Linked DNA regions of Homo sapiens: all the other regions are linked to region 3. Evidence: promoter capture Hi-C in 16 types of primary human blood cells and fetal thymus (Javierre and others, 2016). All regions are on one chromosome and are shown on one strand. The core of a region is centred on a gene start or on the middle of the fragment in contact, and the rest is flanking DNA. Distances in the headings are between cores, read along the strand shown.

Region 1 (2,772 bases), core at 230-2,729, 240 kb after region 3:
AAATGGTGCTGGGAAAACTGGCTAGCCATGTGTACAAAGCTGAAGCTGGATCCCTTCCTTACATCTTATACAAAAATTAATTCAAGATGGATTAAAGACTTAAATGTTAGACCTAAAATCATAAACGCCCTAGAAGAAAACCTGGGCAATACCATTCAGGACATAGGCATGGACAAGGACTTCATGACTAAAACACCAAAAGCAACGGCAACAAAAGCCAAAATTGACAAATGGGATCTAATTAAACTAAAGAGCTTCTGCACAGCAGAAGAAACTTCCATCAGAGTGAACAGGCAACCTACAGAATGGGAGACCATTTTTGCAATCTACCCATCTGACAAATGGCTAATACCCAGAATCTACAAAGAACTTAAACAAATTTACAAGAAAAAAACAAACAACCACATCAAAAAGTGGGCAAAGGATATGTCTTATTTTGAGAGAAGTCTCAAAAGAAGACATTTTTGCAGCCGACACATGAAAAAATGCTCATCATCACTAGTCATCAGAGAAATGCAAATCAAAACCACAATGAGATACCATCTCACACCAGTTAGAAAGGCGTTCACTAAAAAGTCAGGAAACAGCAGTTGCTGGAGAGGATTGGAGAAATAGGAATGCTTTTACACTGTTGGTGGGAGTGTAAACTAGATAAACCATTGTGGAAGACAGTATGGTGATTCCTCAAGGATCTAGAACTAGAAATACCATTTGACCCAGCCATCCCCTTACTGGGTATATACCTAAAGGATTATAAATCATGCTACTATAAAGACACATGCACATATGTGTTTATTGCGGCACTATTCACAATAGCAAAGACTTGGAACCAACCAAAATGTCCATCTATGATAGACTGGATTATGAAAATGTGGCACATATACACCATGGAATACTTTGCAGCCATAAAAAAGGATGAGTTCATGTCCTTTGCAGGGATATGGATGAAGCTGGAAACCATCATTCTAAGCAAACTATCACAAGGACAGAAAATCTAACACTGCATTTTCTCACTCATAGGTGGGAATTGAACAGTGAGAACACTGGGACATGGGGTGGGGAACATTACACACCAGGGCCTGTCGTGGGGTGGGGGGCAGGGGGAGGGAAAGCATTAGGAGAAACACCTAATGTAAATGACAAGTTAATGGGTGCAGCAAACCAACATGGCACATGTATACCTATGTAACAAACCTGCACATTGTGCACATGTACCCTCTAACTTAAAGTATAATTTAAAAAGTGCATGCAATCCTTTATCTTTACTTTTCATAATAGCTATATTGTCATATGATATAGTTATACTACTGTCCACAAATACTGTCCAATAGAATGTTGCAAACATCCAGAACGAGTATATTCCACTTTCTCACAGAAAGATTGTTTTCAGGTGGCAAGAAATGAAAACATTTACAAACTTTCAGGGTTTTCTATAATACCTTCAACTCATAATAATCGTTAATTGATTAGTATTTGTCCAATCTCATGAAAAACTTACAATACTGGACTAGTATTTGGGGGTCTGGTTTTTTTCCAAATATTTTTATATTTTTTGTTTTGATTAATTCATTCTACTCTATTTTGAATACAGATGACACATTTGTCTTTTTTTGATTTTGGCTTTTTTCCAGATAGTCATGTAAAAATGAATCAAATTCAGCAAATAGTTTCATGATTCTCATGAAATATCCATTATTCCAGGAATGTCACTTTCAATCATAACCTCATGTAGACCAAGCCTCAATTAAAATACAATAATTGCCACTATTCATTCAAAATGATAACAAATGTTCTTCAACACTTTGGTAAGTGCTTTTATTTGATTTACATTGAATTAAAAAAACTCAAGCCTTCATATGCTCCGTGGAGTCTTTAACATATTTTGAGAGTTCTTCTATATTCACTCAGTTGGAAAACCATGCCTTGTAAATAAATCTGTTCTTGTAAATATTATTTACCAACTAAACACCATATGCAGACTTTTAGTTCTGGGATATGCCAACCAAGATCTCATAATAGTTTGAACATTTTAAAATTTGTGAATAGTGTTTATTATCTCAGGGACAAATGCACGAGTAGGTAGTCCCAACACCGAGTGCTCCAGTCCCTCACCTTAAAGAGCTTCAAGAATGACACCAAAGGATTCCACCAATCCTGAATCAACCTTCTATCATTTCCCAGTAAAGTAGATGGGCAGAGAAATTCAGATATTAACTACTAATATTTGCTTCTTAAGGACACATATCCATGTTACACTTGCAAGAACAGGTCTAAAGAGTCTGTTACATATTGTTTTCCCTCCAAGAAGGAGACACAGAATTCCAGCTGTTAACTATGCAGCCATAAAAAGGAACGAGATCATGTCCTTTGCAGGGTCATGGATGGAGATGGAAGTTGGAAGCCATTATCCTCAGCAAACTAACACAGAAACACAAAACCAAACACCCTGTGTTCTCACTTATAAGTGGGAGCTGAATAATGAGAACACATGGACACATGGTGAGGAACATACACACTGGGGCCTGTTGGGGTGGGATTTTGGGAAGGGACAGCATTACGAAGAGTAGCTAAGGTATGCTGGGCTTAATACCTAGGTGATGGGATGATCTGTGCAGCAAACCACCATGGCACACATTTACCTGTGTAACAAACCTGCACATCCTGCACATGTACCCCTGAACTTAAGAGTTGAAGTATAAAAAAATAAATAAATAAAAAACTAGAAAAAAAGTCTATGGCCTAAGAAGGACTTTACACAAATATACTGTGGCT
Region 2 (2,881 bases), core at 203-2,702, 150 kb before region 3:
CTAAAAATAAACCTTTCCCTCTAAAAAATCCTTGTGCTTCCTTGTTTGGCTTTCCATTGCAATCAGGCAAACGGCCTGCATTGGTTTAGGTAACTGACACTCCCAAGACTCAAGGAGCTGCCGTGCAGCACTATTTTGAAAGCCCAGCCCCCATCAGACTGTATCTTGCTCTGGGGCGAACAGCCCCATCATCTCCACGTCCCTGGAACCCTGCGGACATCTCTTCATTTCCACCCAGAGGGCTGCAACTTTGTCCCGTGGGCTGAATCCAGTGGTGCAGTAAGGAACAGCAGTGCACCACACCAGGGAGGCTGCCCCCAGGACAAAGGGAGCCTAAATGCACACTCCTCAGTTTCTGAAAGCCACTTGCCTGGGGCCACTGCCACCAACAGCAACCCTCTCAACCTTCCACCGGAAGCAGGGCCACCAAGCATCTGCATGTGCCTCCAATGGTCCTGGAGCTGGTCTACCCAGACACTGTTCTGTGTCCTGAGGACAGGCTCTCACACCACCCACCATGCAAACATGCTGCCCAGGGCCTGGGGATCATGCTGCCTCAACTGTAGCTGTGGGCATGTGCATGCAACATCAGGAAGTCTGACAGCAGGCCCAGGTCACCTGCCACTGGGACCCAAGCATGCCATCCAGGGGCCTGGTGATTTCCTGGCCCCACTCACCATAGCCTGCACACTTGCACACCATTGGAGGGTCTAAGGGCAGGAAAGCAACATGCCTCCCTGGAGAGAGCTTGATTCTATTCTGGCATATGCTAGAGAAAAGTACTAAACCAAGTCAGATGCTTTGGAATGTGGTCTAAATATTAATGCTACCAAACTGGGGAGGAAGTAACTCAGTTTTGCTGATTTTTCATTTTCTTATGCTTTATTGGTTAACAAAGAAACCATTATTTGCTTTTGAAGGCAGAGTTATTATTTTCTACCATGAAGTTACTTCAACTCATAAAAATGTATTTTATTTACACCTTTGTAGCAATGGAGCTTGGAAGAAAATATAAAGCTTACCTACATGAACATTTCATCTAGTATTCTGTGGTCTCACCTGGTCTTCTATGAAGTTTCAGTTCAAGTGAGGAAACAGCACCATGCTCTATTATGAAAGGAGGCATTTGCCATGTGATTGGATCAGAGGTAGCTCAAGGTAATAAAAGGCCTCAAAGCAATTAGAAAAGACAGAATTATTAATGTGGATTTAATGGCATTAACTGCTTCCCTCCTTTTTTCTCACTGTGTTATTTTGAATAACCACATAGTTTTTTCAAGATTCTAATATATATAATCTAATCCATATGATTTTTGTACGTGTGAGTTACACAAGGCCGGTATATAAAACTTTGACCAATGTGTCTGTAAATCAGAGTTCTGCAAACTATGGCTTATGGGTGCCACCCTGTTATTGAAAATAAAAATTGATTGGAACATAGCCACACCTATTGGTTTATGTATTTTCTATGGCTGCATTTGCACTACATGCAGAGCTGAGTACTTGAGACAGACTGTATGACCTGCGAAGTCATAAATAGTTACTATCTGGTATTTTCAGAAAAGATTGCCAACCATTGCTATAAAGACTAAAACCTTCTTTTCTGACAAAAATAACTGCAAAAAGAAAACTTAATCAGAAATAAGAAGCCTAGTGAAATACATTGTATTTACAGTTCAGAAATAATTTTTAATTGCTATAAGAAACATCAACCACTTTCCTAGGACTTTTGACACATGAGATAAAGTCTATGTATACTAAGTAAACACAAGAACATTATTAAATGGGTCAAAAATGTCAAAAAACATCCGATATTCTCTTCTGGGGAAACTCAGCAAGATTTCAAGTATGAGTGTTAAGAATTAGAAAAGACTAGCATAAGCTTTAGCATTCTAAATAATAAGTAATTGAATTAATTCAATTCTGTTACACAGCATCTTTTAAAGTCAATCTTTGCAAATTATACATTGCCATAAATACAGTGTGTAATTGGCATTATGTGACTTTGTTTAATCCAGTGTCAACTGTCTAATGGTCTAAAGTGTCCCATTAAAGTTATAATCTGGATGAACTGAACAAGAAGAAAAGTTTTCTTCTTTAGCCCATTTGTTTATCACTCAATTCCTGCTCCTGCTCATGGTTTCTTCCACCTACCTCTGGAGAACATAAAGGGATTCTAGATCTCTGTATAAGGTGGTTTGCTTTAGCTTGAAATCATCAGTGAGGACAATACATGGGCAATGTCCACAAATCACATTATTGCTCATAGACTGTGTAGCCCTGATCTAATGGATAACTGTACATTGTCTTCACTAAGAAGCCAGGGTGGTTGTCCTTGATATTGGGACATTGTAGACTTGGCCAGACCAATGCCCAAATATTTCCCAAGACTTTTACCTAAGACTCTGCTCAGTACCCATTTGTCTACTGCTGGTCATCTGGAAGAATAAACTCCTGGGTGGTACCAGCTCATGAACCTTCCTGAGTTGGTACAGAGGTAAATGCATCTTTTTTGCACAATTTACAGTCTTTTTTTTTTTGGAAAAAACATGATTTTGATCATTGTACTGCATGCCTTTATAAATTTTGGTGTTATGATGCAAGATCTAATTATTATCAAATGTAGTGTCGCTTGTTCCAAATTCTAAAATTGTTTCAATTATGCCTTGGGTAGGGGTGACAGGAAGGCTCTGGTCTTTAGTTTATGGTACATGTCCTTGGTTGTATCATTGTCCTCTGGAGATTCTGTATCTCATTTTGGATTCTTCTGCTTACGTTTTCAAATCTCTCTTTTAGTAGTCGCTCTTGTTCCTAAAGAGGGACAAACGGAGGCTGAATAAAGTGTGGCATCGGGAAAATTGAAATATTCTATCTGGTTTCC
Region 3 (3,038 bases), core at 32-2,531:
AGCCTCCCGAGTAGCTGGGACCACAGGCGCCCGCCACCATGCCCAGGTAATTTTTTGTATATTTTTAGTAGAGACGGGGTTTCATCGTGTTAGCCAGGATGGTCTAGATCTCCTGACCTCGTCATCCACCCGCCTCGGCCACCCAACATGCTGGGATTACAGGCGTGAGCCACCGTGCCCAGTCCCTCATGGAAGCAGTTTTCTTACTAGCTCTAAAATACCTCTTCTCCCGATTTTATAATCAAGGTAATGAGAGGTGACGGCGTGCTGGCAGCCCTTGCAGCCCTCCCTCGCTCTCGGTGCCTCCTCTGCCTGGGCACCCACTCTGGCGGCACTTGAGGAGCCCTTCAGCCCTCCGCTGCACTGTGGGAGCCCCTTCCTGGGCTGGCCGAGGCCGGAGCTGGCTCCCTCAGCTTGCTGGGAGGTGTGGAGGGAGAGGCAGGGGTGGGAACTGGGGCTGCGCCCGGTGCTTGAGGGCCAGCGCGAGTTCTGGGTGGGCTTGGGCTCTGAGGGACCTGCACTCGGAGCGGCCCCAGGCAGTGAGGGGCTTAGCACCTGGGCCAGCAGCTGCTGTGCTCCACTTCTTGCAGGGCCTTAGCTGCCTCCCGGTGGGGCAGGGCTGGGGACCTGCAGCCTGCCATGCCTGAGCCTCCTCCCCTCTCCCGCTCCCCACCTCACCCCGCCATGGGTTCCTGTGCTGCCTGAGCCTCCCCAACCTGTGCTGACCCCTGCTCCACAGCACCCTGTCCCATCCATGGCCCAAGGACCGAGGAGTGCCAGTGCATGGAGCAGGACTGGCAGGCAGCTCCACCTGCCGCCCGGTGCAAGATCCACTGGGTGAAGCCAGCTGGGCTCTTGAGTCTAGTGGGAACTTGGAGAATCTTTATGTCTAGCTAAGGGATTGTAAATACACCAATCAGCACTCTGTATCTATTTAATCTGGTGGGGACTTGGAGAATCTTTATGTCTAGCTAAGGGATTGTAAATGCACCAATCAGCACTCTGTATCTACCTCAAGGTTTGTAAATGCACCAATCAGCACTCTGTATCTAGCTCAAGGTTTGTAAATAGGCCAATCCACACTCTGTATCTAGCTAATCTAGTGGGGACATGAAGAACTTTTGTGTCCAGCTCAGGGATTGTAAACACACCAATCAGCACCCTGTCAAAACAGACCAATCAGCTCTCTGTAAAATGGACCAATCGGCTCTCTGTAAAATGGACCCATCAGCAGGATGTGGGTGGGGCCAGATAAGAGAAGTAGCCAGCAGTGGCAACCCACTGAGGTCACCCTCCAGGCTGTGGAACCTTTGTTCTTTCACTCTTTGCAATAAATCTTGCTGCTGCTCACTCTTTGGGTCCACACTGCCTTTATGAGCTGTAACACTCACTGGGAATGTCTGCAGCTTCACTCCTGAAGCCAGCGAGACCACGAACCCACCAGGAGGAACAAACAACTCCAGACGCGCAGCCTTAAGAGCTGTAACACTCACCGCGAAGGTCTGCAGCTTCACTCCTGAGCCAGCCAGACCACGAACCCACCAGAAGGAAGAAACTCCAAACACATCCGAACATCAGAAGGAGCAAACTCCTGACACGCCACCTTTAAGAACCGTGACACTCAACGCTAGGGTCCGCGGCTTCATTCTTGAAGTCAGTGAGACCAAGAACCCACCAATTCCGGACACGGTAAGACTGGGGCAAGAGGTGGAAGAGATTTGCAAGATTCATTTGGTTTTAGAAACATTCTACAAAGGATAGGATGCAGCTTATCCTGATGTGGTATATCAGACCTCAGTAAAGAATAAATTGTATTCTTATCAGACAGGCAGCAGAATTCATCAAGTACCAGCTGTGTCTGCCTCTTGCTGAATTAGACATCAATGTGTGTGGTGACTAAACTAAGAGTTTGAAATGCCTTCAAATTATTTTTCTTCCTTTGCAATTTTATGACTTATTCAGGATCATAATTTCCACTTAAGTTACCTTCGTCCTTCATAAAATCTGATTAAACTGACTCGAACTTCAGCATGAAAGTTTCAAAAACTATGATAGCTATTATTTTCATGAGAAAGAACAATGAATATGATGCAATGTAAGTAGCTTGCAAACATTAAGGACAAGAAAAAAATGTTGCCCAGAGAGAAGTTTCATGAAAACAGTGATGTATTTTTAGTCATAGTCTTGTACTTTGTTTGAAAGTAGATTTCTTCCTTTAGCAATAGCCCTGACTTAATTCATGTTGGTTTCTTGGCATCTACTCACTTAACTAACCCCTTTTGTGTTGGGTTCTGCTTCTACTACTCTATTGCCTTTACTATTATGAATCACCTAATTTAACAGTTGCCCAACTGGATCCCTCAATACTGTCTGGCAACTGTTCACTCGTTGAAATTCTCTCCTTTGAATTTCTTACCATGACACATACTTCAAGCATTTTGTACTAGTTTGATTTCCATTTATATCCTTAATAAGAGCCTTTTCCTTTTCCTTGAAATTCAAACCAGAAACTATGCAAAATAAGCAAAAGCAAGCAATAACAACTACATATACAAATGCAGGCGCAAAACCCAAACTAGAATCATATGGCTGAAAACAGATGTTTTCTTTCAGAAATCCTTCCACTACCACTTCTGAGCATTTTCTCTTAGTATTTTTTTTTGGGCATTTTCCTTCTTTGCACTTTTTAAAATCTCCTGCAGCTCGCTCACTCTCTTTCATAAGCCAGCAGTTATACTGATGTTAATAAATAGTTGTTTATTTACTTTTGCTTTTTTAGAAAACAAGCTGAAAGAATTGAGTGAAATGCCAGAGAGATACAGATAGCCAGTTGTAGGGCTGGGGTTGGAAATCAAGTCTAATTTAAGGCAAGGGCAAAATGTGCATTTTGTGTGTGTATTTTGAACCATTCTTGCATTGTTTTTATTTGCAAAGGTTATAGGGCTCAAGCAGTTAGGGAGAATGCATCCCAGAACACTAAGTTATGAATAACAGAGCAACAGTTATGTTTGTGGCTTGAACACATTAAATCTGCAATA
Region 4 (2,895 bases), core at 356-2,855, 190 kb before region 3:
CATTTTAAAAATTGTCCTTGCCCTGTAAAAGTGATTTGTATTAAGAACACATTCGTATATGTAGATAGCATTGCTAGTGCAGGTGAATCAAACCTGAATTGTTCTACATCACAAATAGCCAGTATAGAAGTTTAAGTGCAGAAAGATTTCTTTGTATATCTTGGGGTATTCTCTGTAACAGAACCACAGTGCTCCCTTGGAAACAAGGTGTCCACTTTTAATGTCTACATTTTACTTGATTTTAAATTCTCTATAGCTATTACTTCAGAGACTTATACTTGTTGACAGCTATGTGTAGTGGAAAGAGCCTAGCACTGAGGCGGTCAAGAGATCTGGATTCTAGTTCTGGATTTGGCATTACTTAGCTATTGTTCGCTGTTGGAAATGTAACTACTACTCCTATGACAGCTTGAAATATCTTGAAGTGAATCTGAATGATTTCTAAGTGTATTAGTTTCCTGTTGCCACTGTAACAAATTACCACAAATTTAGTGGTTTAAAGAACACAATATAAACTCTTACAATTCTGGAGGGTGGTCAGAAGTCCAAAATGGGTCTCATGGGGCTAAAATCAAGGCATTGGATTCTTCTGGAGTCTCTAGGGAAAAATCAGTTTCCTCGCCGTTTTCAGCCCTTAGAGGCCCCTGCACTCCTTGGTCATGGCCCCTTCCTGGGATCACTTCCACCTTTTGCTTCCATCATCATCATGTCTCCTACTCCTCTCTGACTTCTCCAATGTCTTTCGTGTAAATACCCTTTTGACTTTATTGTGCTTCCTTGAGTAATGTAGGAGAAGCCCCTCATCTCAAGATCCTTGACTGGATCACACCTGCAAAGTTTCTTTTACCATACAAGGAAACATTCAGAGGTTTTTGAGGTCAGGATGTGGGCACATCTAAGGGGCATCATTCAGCCTACCAAAGAAACCACAGTGGTCAATGATGGATGATTGGGGAATGCGGTCAGAAAGAATGAACTTATTTTTGGTACCTTCACTTATTTCTTGAATATATGAACAGATAGCAGATAATATAGTGTATGAGATTCAGAGTCATGTAGACCTGCATTAAAACCCCAGCTATACCACTTACTAGCTGTTTGACCTTAGGCAAAAAATATAATTTCTCTGAGTTTCTGCTTCTTCATCTGTAAAATGGGAATAATAATATGAGTTCTATATGTCTGTGCGTGTTTTTGTGTGAGGATTAAAATAACATATGTGAAGCGATTAGTACAATAACTAGTACAGATCAAGGTCTCAGTAAATGAGGCTATCACAACTGAAGCTGAGCCTTGCTTCTAACTCAGTGTACTTCTCAATATTTATCTGTGCAAGGGACCAGTTTTGTTTACTGTTACCTTAATTTTAATATTTTTATCTTTCCCCTCCAGTTATCATTCCCATTTCTTCCCCTGCCTTTTCAATAAGTCCTGTTTAACACACTTGCTATGTGTCTTTGAATGTACATATTTTATATAAAATCATATAGCATTATTTTATACGTGTGTGTTTCTAATTAAATGGGATGTAAAATACATTTAATGTTTCTTATTTTTTTCCACTCACTTTTGTGTTGTTCAAGATTTGTCCATCCAGCATGTTAGTTTTCCTCTCTGGCTATGGTCATCTAGGGTGCTTCAGTATCCCCTGCCATAGATGCCTATGCATTTACATGTCCCTGTAGAGAAGTTGGAAAGAGTTGCTCTGGGATATACATTCAGCAGTTGGAAGAAGGCTTATGGTACAAGTATTGCCAGATTGCTCTCTAGAAAGACTATACCATTTCTTCTTCTACCAGAAGAACAAATGTTCTTGTTTAGCATTGGTTTGCTGACATTTAGTGTTTTCTGACTCTGATTTTTTTTTTTTTTACAGGTGATAGTTACAAAGTGGTATCAGATTTATTTTTTAATTTTTTAACACTAGTAGGGTTGAGCACTATATATTTACTAGTTTTCAGGTTTTTCCATCCTATGGATACAAATAGTATGCATAATTTATATGGATATAAATTATTTGCTCATTATTGGCTTAACTAGCTTTTTGTTTTAGTTGCTTGTTAATTTGTTGGTATGTCTTGAATGTTCTAGATATTACTTCTTTATTGGGTTAATACATTTAAAATTTCTTGTTGAAACCTCTCAGGCTTTTGCTAACTTTATCACATATATATGTGTATATATATATTATAATGTTATATATTCTACATATACCCAGATGTAGATATTACATCAATTTTAGGTGCTGTAACTAGCTTTGCCAAGTCATCTGTATTTTATGGATTTGAGGGTTCCCTTAATGAAAAGAAATTCAACGATTTTCCCTCTATGATGTGTAATTGTTTTGGAGTCTTCTTAAAAAGATCTTTCCCACCCAAGATAAAAAAGATTCTTTCCTATATGGTCTCATTTGGCCTTTCTGAAAAGTAACCAGTTGCAGAAGATGCTCAATTATGTGAAATTAGTAAATATAGAAGAAGCATCAGTTGATTACTGTAGCAGTTCAACACTAAGGAATATGATGGTTGGTTTGGTTAAATTTTACTTAAAGTGATTCAACTTAAACTTGGGGGGAAAAAATCTTAGGTCAACAATTAGTCGGTACTTAGTCTCTGCCAGGTGTGGACTGAACTATCCAAAGCATGCTGGAGTTGGAAAGAGCCAATGGGAGAAATGAGGCAAGGGTCACGCTGAGTTCAGCCCAGAATTTGGGGCATGCTCTACAAAACCGTGCTGCCTAGGGCTGGCCACAGAGTCACTGGGGGCAAAAGGACTAACAAAACTGTAAAAGTGTGTGTTGGGGTAACAGCCATTTTGAAAATGTTTTAATGGTGATAAGAATGCATGTGTCAACCATGGATTAAGAGAATGATAACACTTTGCAGCAGATTTTAG
Region 5 (2,873 bases), core at 173-2,672, 170 kb before region 3:
TGACCCCTATATTTCAGGCCCTAGCTCCCATACTACGTTTCTAGATATACCCTGGACTAGAAGGGAAACTGCTTCCCTGAAGAGTATGACCCAGTCCTGGCAGGATTCATCACCTGCTGACTAAAGAGCCCTTGGGACCTCAATAACCAAGGGTGATACTCAGGTAGTATGTTATGGGCCTTGGATAAGACTGGAGATGTCCTGGTTTTAGGTGAGACATAGCATATTCCCAGCTGTGGTGGCTATGGTGAAAGACTCCTGCTTGAGAAAAGCAGGGGGAAAAGCAAAGAGGACTTTGTCTTGTACCTGAAGTACAGCTTGACCCCAGTGAGGCAGAGCACCTAGTGGGCTGTTGGGATCCCTGAGTCCAGGCCTAAGCTTTTGGACAGTATTTCTGGACCTGCCCTAGACCAGATGGGAGCCCATTGCACTGAAGGGTGATTCTCAGGCCTGGCATTCACTACAAGCTGACTGAATAGCCCTTGGACTTTAAGTGAATATTGGCAGTGGCCTGGAAGAACTCCCCATGGGCTGGTAGTGGTGGTGGCTATTGAGAGAGGCTCCTTTGCCTATGGAAAGGGAGGGAATAGTGGGAGGGATTTTGTCTTATGGGTTGAAGGCTAGCTTAGCCTCAGTAGAATAGAACACCAGGTGAATTTCTAAGATTTCTGATCCTAATCCCTGGCTCCCAGACAGCATCTCTGGACCCACCCAGGACCTGAGGGAACTTGTTGCCCTGAAAGGAAGAACAGAAATCAGACTGGCTTCACCACCTATTGACTGTAGAGCCCTAGGCCCTTAAGTGAACATAGATAGTCGCCAGGTAGTGGTTACAGTGGACCTTGGTCAAGACTCAGTGCTATTCTGGCTTCAGATCTGACTCAGTGCAATCCCTGTGGTGGTAGCTACGGTGGTAGTTGTGTCACCTCACCCCTAGCTCCAGGTGGCTCAGCACAGAGAAAGACATACTCCATTTGTTTGGGTGAAAGTAAGGGGAAAGAACAAGATTATATTCCTGGCAATCCAGATAGTTCTTCTGGATCTAATCCATGACCATCAAGATGGTACCTTGGAGTATTAAAAAATCACAGCATTATTGGGGCTGAGGCCCAAATTCCTTTGAGTACCGGAAAAGCCTTCCAAAGAAATATGGGCACAAATAAGCCCAGACTGTGAAGACTAAAATAAGTACCTAACTCTTCAAAGCCCAGACACTGACAAACATCCACAAGCATCAAGACCATCTAGGAAAACATGCCTCACCAAATGAACTATATAAGGCGCCAGGGACGAATCCTGGAGAAAGAGTTATATGACTGTGGAGACAGAGAATAAAAAATAACTGTTTTGAGAAAACTCAAATAAATTCAAGTTAACACAGAGAAGGAGTTCAGAATTCTATCAGATAAATTTAACAAAGAGGTTGAAATAATTAAAGGGGATCTAGCAGAAATTCTAGAGTTGAAGAAAAATGCAATTGATATACTGAAGAATGTATCAGAATCTCTTAATAGCAGAACTGATCAAACAGAAGAATGAGTGAGCTTGAAGACATATTATTTGAAAATACACAGCCAGAGGAGACACAGGAAAAAATAATGCCAAAGAATGAAGCATGCTTACTAAATCTAGAAAATAGCTTCAAAGAGGCACATCTGAGTTATTGGCCTTAAAGAGGAGGTAGAGAAAGAGATAGGAGTAGAAAGTTTATTTAAAGGGATAATATTTAAGAACTTTCCAAACCTAGAGAAAAATATCAAATTCAAGTACAAGAAGATTATAGAACACCAAGAAGATTTAGTCCAAACAATACTACCTCAAGGTACTTAATAATCAAACTCCCAAAGGACAAAGATAAAGAAAGAATCCTAAAAGAAGCAAGAGAAAAGAAACAATGTACAGTAGAGCTCCAATACCTCAGTCAGCAGACTTTTCAGTGGAAATCTTTTCATTGGAAATCTTGTAGGCTAAGAGAGAGTGGCATGACATATTTAAAGTGCTGAGGGAAAAAAAATACTTTTACCCAAATTAGTATCTCCAGTAAAAATATCCTTCAAGCATGAAGGAGAAATACAAACTTTCCCAAAGAAACAAAAGCTGAGAGATTTCACCAACATCAGACCTGTCCTACAAGAAATGCTAAAGGGAGTTCTTCAATCTGAAAGAAAAGGATGTTATTGAGCAATAAGAAATTGTCTGATGTTACAAAACTCACTAGTAATATGAGGTATACAGAAAAACACAGGATATTACCAATAAAAAATAAGAACTACAACAATTATTCAAGACATAGATAGTATACTAAGACATTAAGAGAAACAACAAAAGTTACAAAGTGGGGAGATAAAGTGTAGAGTTTTTATTAGTTTTCTTTTTGCTTCTTTGTTTATGCAATTAGTGTTAAGTAGTCATCAATTTAAAATAATGGGTTATAAGCTAGTACTAGCAAGCCTTATAGTAAGCTTAAATCAAAAAAATATACAATGGATACACAAAAAGTAAAGAACAAGAAATTAAATTGTACCATCAGAGAAAATCAATTTCAGTAAAAGGAAGACAGTAATAATCTAAGGAAGAAAAGAAAAGACTACAAAACAACCAGAAAAAAATAACAAAATGCAGGAGTAGGTCCTTACTTATTAGTAACATTGAATGTAAATGGACTAAACTATCCAATCAAAAGAAAGAGTGCCTGAATGGATTTAAAAAAAAAAAAAAAAAAGAACCGGGCTGAGCGTGGTGGCTTATGCCTGTAATCCCAGCACTTTGGGAGGCCAAGGCAGGCAGATCACGAGGTCAGGAGATCGAGACCATCCTGGCTAACACGGTGAAACCCAATCTCTACTAAAAATACAAAAAATTAGCCGGGTGTG
Region 6 (2,707 bases), core at 134-2,633, 180 kb after region 3:
CTAAAGTCAACGGAGATGTCTCATATCTTTTATCCATTAAGAATCTTTTTAAATTATCCACTACCAAACTTTATGATAATTGTCAGTAACCAATTCACCATCAATTTTAGACATATACAATGTGACAAGATATGAAGTAAAACTCTTCTCCCAGGACTCATAACCTGCCTTTGAAGGTAAACGCTGAAGGGTGCCCTAAATTTCTTTTATAAAAAATAATATTATTGGAATATTCACACAAAGTTACTACTTTAAAGACAAAAAAATTAGCGTGGTCTATAAATTATGTAGGTTTGTTAAAATAAATATTGCTGCTGTAGAAAGAAGATAGGATCACTAGTGCAAACAAGGGTGAGAAAGAACAGTGGAGAAAGAAGGAGAGAAATCTGCATTCAAAAACCAATTCTACAACCTACTAGTTGCCTCACCTCAGAAAGTTACATACCTTTTAAGCGTCATTCTTCTCATATATTTGTTGTGAGAATGATGAAGAAAGATATGAAAAACACTTATTATAACTAGGTTCTTTTACCTTAATACTGAAATAAACAGACTCTTAATACAGAAAAAAAAAAGTGTCCGTTGTATAGAAATGGCCTTAGGATTGAACAGAAAGACAAGAAACATCTGTCCTAAAGCAAGATGCTATCAGCTTGAATTCCTTTGAACTCTCCATTCCAGTCACAGCTGGGATGAGAGGAGACATTGAGAGGATGAGTCAGTGTATCAGATGCATCTGACACAGTTCACCCCTTCAGCACTCTGATCACTGTGCCTGCCCTACATTAAATTCAGTCTGTTACCAAGTCCTCAAGTTCATAACCAGCTACAGTTCTACAAAAAACTTAATACACAGGAGTTGGTGGCACATACCACAGTTTGCTCCTGCAACTTCAATCAAAGGCAGAATTGACGTTCATCCTATCCCTCCCCTACCACTTATTTTATATTTCCTTCCCTTTGTCATCACAAGTAGACATTTCATTTAAACTATTTTTAACAACATTAATCTTATTTCTTCTAACTATATTTTTGTACCCATATTTCAAAAAACTAAAAGAGTGGAATTGGAATATTCCGAACACAAAGAAATGATAAATGCTTGAGGTGAAGGATATCCCAATTATCCTGATTTGATCATTGCATATTTTATTTTTGTATCAAAATATCACATGTAACCCATAAATGCATACAACTATTATGTATCCATAAAGAATAAAAATTAAGAAAATGCACATTGATCTGTGTGCATAATACACTCTTCTTCATGATGAATCCAAAAAGAAAATATAACTTGAAAATACCTTAGTATTTAACATTTTCAGTACTATGAGGTCAGCTTATTCCCTTATAAAAGAGAATAAGATCCATATAGCACATTCTGTTTATTTAGTGATGTTTTTAAAGAGTGCACACATCTTTAATCCTTACTTTTCATAATAGCTATATTATCATAGCACAGAGTCAGACTAATCCCACAAATCCTGTTCAATGGCATGTTACAATCAACTAGAATTTGTTTCATTTGTTGAATATAGTCAGATAAATAATTTGAGTTAGAAAAAATATTTCAAGATTTTTTGTAATAGTGTTAGCTTGTAAGAATCAAGGATCAGTATTTATCCAATCTGGTATAAAATCTAATAAGGAAGTAGTTTTTAGAACCTGCTTTATTTATTTAACATTTCACTTTCTATGTGCCTATTTCTATTTCAATTAAGTCTTCATAATTTATTTTGGATACAATTGTCATATTTATTTTCACACACTGCCATTTTTCCAAGTACTCATGAGAGAATGGATCAAATTCAGCAAACGGTTTGATGATTCTCATAAGATTTTTATTATTTAAAGAGTGCCAGTTGAGGGGAGGGACCAAGATGGCCGAATAGGAACAGCACCGGTCTGCAGCACCGTGAAACCCACGCAGAAGGCAAGTGATTTCTGCATTTCCAACTGAGGTACCCAGTTCATCTCATTGGGACGGTTAAGCAGTGGGTTCAACCAACTGAGGGCGAACAGAAGCAGGGTGGGGCGTTGCTTCACCCAGGAAGTGCAAGAAGCCGGGGACCTCCCACCCGCAGCCAAGGGAACTATGCAAACAGGAGGGAACTGATAACCCATGGACACATTTATTAACATTCCTTCCTCCTCTGGGTGAGAGGCCCACAAGTATCTGTAGGCTCAGGCATCCAAACACTATTATTAACATAAACCTCAACCGGAGGTTCCAACCATGTGACAGCCCTACTCAAATATAGTATGGATTATCAGTTAAACGAGCTGTTTAATTTGTTACAACAAACTGTAAGAAAAAGAAATTTCCCATTTTGTATTACTCATATTCGAGCACACCCTAATTTACCATGGCCTTTGGCTAAAGCAAATGAACAAGCTGACTTGCTAGTATCATCTGCATTCATGGAAGCACAAGAACTTCATGCCTTGACTCATGTAAATGCAGCAGGATTAAAAATAAATTTGATATCACATGGAAACAGCCAAAAAATATTGTACAAGATTGCACCCGGTGTCAGATTCTACACCTGCCCACTCAGGAGGCAGGAGTTAATCCCAGAGGTCTAAGTCCTAATGTGTTATGGCAAATGGATGTCACGCATGTACCTTCATTTGGAAAATTGTCATTTGTCCATGTGACAGTTGATACTTATTCACATTTCATATGGGCAACCTGCCAGAGAGGAGA
Region 7 (2,926 bases), core at 311-2,810, 220 kb after region 3:
TTTTATTCAACTAGGAAGGAGATGGGGGAAAGCATATCTAAAAATTTGTCTCTCAGATCTGGGGGTTGGGGCAGGTTTTATAGACAGAGGGTAATGAGGTAAGATCTGACTGCATCGTGCCATGAGGTGATGTCAGGGCTGGATCTGATCAGATCACAGATTAAGCCCTGAGGTGTCTCCTTCTTAAATCAGCCCTGCTCCTTGGTCCAAGTACTTAGGTTCCACCGTGGTTGCATGCAGAGTGTGTCTGGGCATGCTCAGGTAACATAACTTGAAACCAGGAGACCGTGGCAACAGTAAAACAACGCATTATTTTATTACACAAACTTGAACCACATTGGGCTGGTTCTGCATTTTCAAATCCCCCTTTTTTCATTGTTCATTTCTCAATCTTGAGGGAGAATGGGTGACAGACACTCTGGCACTTCCTGCTGATTAGGGCACAGACCTTGGTTAGAGGTATAAAATTATTTAGCACGGTGTTGTACGACTTCCCTGATATCAGGGTTATGTTTCAAAAGGAGTTGTTTGATTCAATTTTAGGAAAATGCATAAAGTGTTAGCAACTTAAACATTATTTCTTCCAGAGAACAGAAAGAATGCTCAGGTTTAATAGCCAAAGTTCCCACGCAGGTTCCCAATCAGGTCTGTTCATTCAATTGAGAATTAAAACTCCAAACTCACTTAGTTCTGATTGGTCAACCCAGCTGAGTTCTAATGGGTCAATACAGCTGAGCCCTGATTAGCAGAGGCAGGTGGGCTGAAAAGCCCCAAAATAATAAGGTATGTGTTTTGGGTGAACTCAGAACATGTGTGTGTCCCCTCGTTAGCAAATGGTCCCTTGGCTCAACTTGAAATGCAGGCCCAGTTAGCCACTCAGGATGCATCTTGAAAGACTGGCTCAAACTTGTTGGCAGACAGCACTGCATTCCATCACGGCATGGAAGTGATTAGCTACGTGCTTCAGGTTTATCTGGTCTCTTCTAGGGATCCTGGTGGCAGAGCAGTGGCCAATTGAGCAACTAGAGCCATTTACTTACAAAAGGCACTCAGGTACCTGTTAGATTCTAATCAAAGTCTCGTAGGTTATGTTGATTCTGGTTCCTGTCTGGAGTAAATTTAAAATTTCCTGGGTTAGGTCAGCATGATCCAAGCCTCTTGCAGATATCTGTTAAAACAGGCTAGAAGAGCTGGGCGCAGTGGCTCACACCTGTAATCTCAGCACACTGGGAGGCCGAAGTGGGCGGATCACCTGAGGTCAGGAGTTTGAGACCAGCCTGAGCAACATGAAGAAAATGCATCTCTACTAAAAATACAAAACTAGCCGGGTGTGGTGGTGCGTGCCTGTAATCCCAGCTACTCGGGAGGCTGAGGCAGGAGAATCGCTTGAACCAAGGAGGTGGAGGTTGCAGTGAGCCGAGATCCCACCATTGCACTCCAGCCTGGGCAACAAGTGTGAAACTCCATCTCCAAACAAAACAAAACAAACAAACAAAAAAAACAGGCTAGAACAATTCAAAAGAGTACCCAAATGATTAGCCCAAATAGAAGGATCATTAAGATCTGTAGGATGGAACACAGAAGGTATCCTAGACTAGAGACAAAAGCCAGCTGAAAATATCTGGAAATTGTAAATTCAAGCCAGGAAGTCCAGCCAGGAGGCTTTTTGAAGGTGTCCCATTCAGAGATTTAGCTAACTTTAGGATCTTAGATGTGTCCAATTCAATCTAACTAGATGTATTTACCCAGGTGCAGCAGCAAATGTTAGCAACAGCACAAACATCACCCTGTACAGCAAGAAGACAGTCAAAAACAATGTAGTTGTCTAGGACCACATGAGCAAGGGAGTTTGGGACTTCTGCTGTGCTCTGATGGTTTGGCCAGTGGAGCAGTCATTCTATTAACAGTACAAGATTTCTGACCATATTCTCATTCCAAGCAGGGCATAGTCCAAACTCGGACCCCAGTAACCTTCCTGATCTAGCTGCTTCACTAGAGTTAATCCTTCTGGGTAAATCACATCTTTGGTAATATCCCCAGCTATAATCTAAGAGATTATCATTGGTGTTCAGTTGTGTCTCCAAGACTCTCAGGTAGCTCTTTGGGTAGCAGTGGTGAGACTAGCTGAATAGATTAAAAATTGGGTTATTCATTTCTGTAGCCAAATCTCCTGGTGAGGATAACTTAAGTACTATTTTTGCCTTTTGGGAGAAGGAAATATGGGCCTGATAGGTTTCTAAGAAGTCTCTTCAGGCTGAAGTGCTTCGTCACTATTTCTTTATCCCACCAAATATTCCCTTATCAGACCTTGAAACCCCATCTCTCCCACATCCTGTTTGTCCTATATTCTTAAAATTCCCACATGAAACACCTTCTTTCCGTGATGATTGATGGTGTGTTGTTTCCATGACCTAATCCAGACTGATTCACCAACATTTTTTATAAGAATAAAATTCTAATACAGAATGATTCCAACATTCCCGAAAGTGTTCACTGTTCTGTGCCCCTACACTTTTCCCACAGTATGAGTACTGGGTAAAAACAGATGAGTGATTTGACTAGAAGATGGTGTCTATAAAGCCATGGTCTGATGACATTGATTTAGATCATTTTTATTCTATACAGATACACAATGCTATGTAACTTCTTCGTATATTCTCTCATCCTGAAAATATGTTTTATAAATATGTATGAAATTTCAAAACAGGCCTGGCATGGTGCCTCATGCCTATAATGCCAGCACTTTGGGAGGCCAAGGCAGGTGGATCGCTTGAATCTAGGAGTTTGAGACCAGCCTGGGAAACATGGCGAGACCCCATCTCTACAGAAAAAAATAAAAATAAATAAAAAAAATTAGTCAGAGGTTGTTGTGCACACCTGTGTTCCCATCTACTCAAGAGGCTTAGGCAGGAGGATCACTTGAGCT

The links. The method cuts DNA at HindIII sites, captures the fragments that hold promoters and counts their contacts. A CHiCAGO score of 5 or more calls a contact.
Region 1: a fragment that was not itself captured here is called in contact with the fragment with the promoter of GBP5 in region 3 in 9 of 17 cell types (non-activated CD4 T cells, naive CD8 T cells, naive CD4 T cells and 6 more); the score reaches 19.3 in non-activated CD4 T cells.
Region 2: a contact is called between a fragment that was not itself captured here and the fragment with the promoter of GBP5 in region 3, in 2 of 17 cell types (activated CD4 T cells and total CD8 T cells). The highest score is 5.8, in activated CD4 T cells.
Region 4: a contact is called between a fragment that was not itself captured here and the fragment with the promoter of GBP5 in region 3, in 2 of 17 cell types (activated CD4 T cells and total CD8 T cells). The highest score is 5.7, in activated CD4 T cells.
Region 5: a fragment that was not itself captured here is called in contact with the fragment with the promoter of GBP5 in region 3 in 5 of 17 cell types (activated CD4 T cells, total CD8 T cells, naive CD8 T cells and 2 more); the score reaches 9.4 in activated CD4 T cells.
Region 6: a contact is called between a fragment that was not itself captured here and the fragment with the promoter of GBP5 in region 3, in 7 of 17 cell types (activated CD4 T cells, non-activated CD4 T cells, naive CD4 T cells and 4 more). The highest score is 16.4, in activated CD4 T cells.
Region 7: a contact is called between a fragment that was not itself captured here and the fragment with the promoter of GBP5 in region 3, in 8 of 17 cell types (total CD8 T cells, total CD4 T cells, naive CD8 T cells and 5 more). The highest score is 13.1, in total CD8 T cells.

The regions. Positions count from the first base shown.
Region 1 is chr1:89,026,996-89,029,767 of GRCh38, reverse strand. No RefSeq gene overlaps it. Among named protein-coding and RNA genes, the nearest start is that of GBP3, 5.5 kb to the right of the region's middle. The HindIII fragment of the contact is 5,231 bases long and covers 1-2,772 here.
Region 2 is chr1:89,426,060-89,428,940 of GRCh38, reverse strand. No RefSeq gene overlaps it. Among named protein-coding and RNA genes, the nearest start is that of GBP6, 63 kb to the right of the region's middle. The HindIII fragment of the contact is 865 bases long and covers 1,020-1,884 here.
Region 3 is chr1:89,271,103-89,274,140 of GRCh38, reverse strand. GBP5 (guanylate binding protein 5) reads left to right here and starts at 1,281. Exons shown (of 12, transcript NM_052942.5): 1 at 1,281-1,689. It also overlaps the pseudogene LOC100421401. The HindIII fragment of the contact is 6,725 bases long and covers 1-3,038 here.
Region 4 is chr1:89,462,191-89,465,085 of GRCh38, reverse strand. No RefSeq gene overlaps it. Among named protein-coding and RNA genes, the nearest start is that of LRRC8B, 61 kb to the left of the region's middle. The HindIII fragment of the contact is 6,077 bases long and covers 1-2,895 here.
Region 5 is chr1:89,444,297-89,447,169 of GRCh38, reverse strand. No RefSeq gene overlaps it. Among named protein-coding and RNA genes, the nearest start is that of LRRC8B, 79 kb to the left of the region's middle. The HindIII fragment of the contact is 2,084 bases long and covers 381-2,464 here.
Region 6 is chr1:89,088,157-89,090,863 of GRCh38, reverse strand. The region is part of intron 4 of LOC105378841 (a long non-coding RNA gene); the gene reads right to left. Among named protein-coding and RNA genes, the nearest start is that of GBP1, 24 kb to the right of the region's middle. The HindIII fragment of the contact is 2,856 bases long and covers 1-2,707 here.
Region 7 is chr1:89,047,410-89,050,335 of GRCh38, reverse strand. The region is part of intron 2 of LOC105378841 (a long non-coding RNA gene); the gene reads right to left. Among named protein-coding and RNA genes, the nearest start is that of GBP1, 16 kb to the left of the region's middle. The HindIII fragment of the contact is 7,509 bases long and covers 1-2,926 here.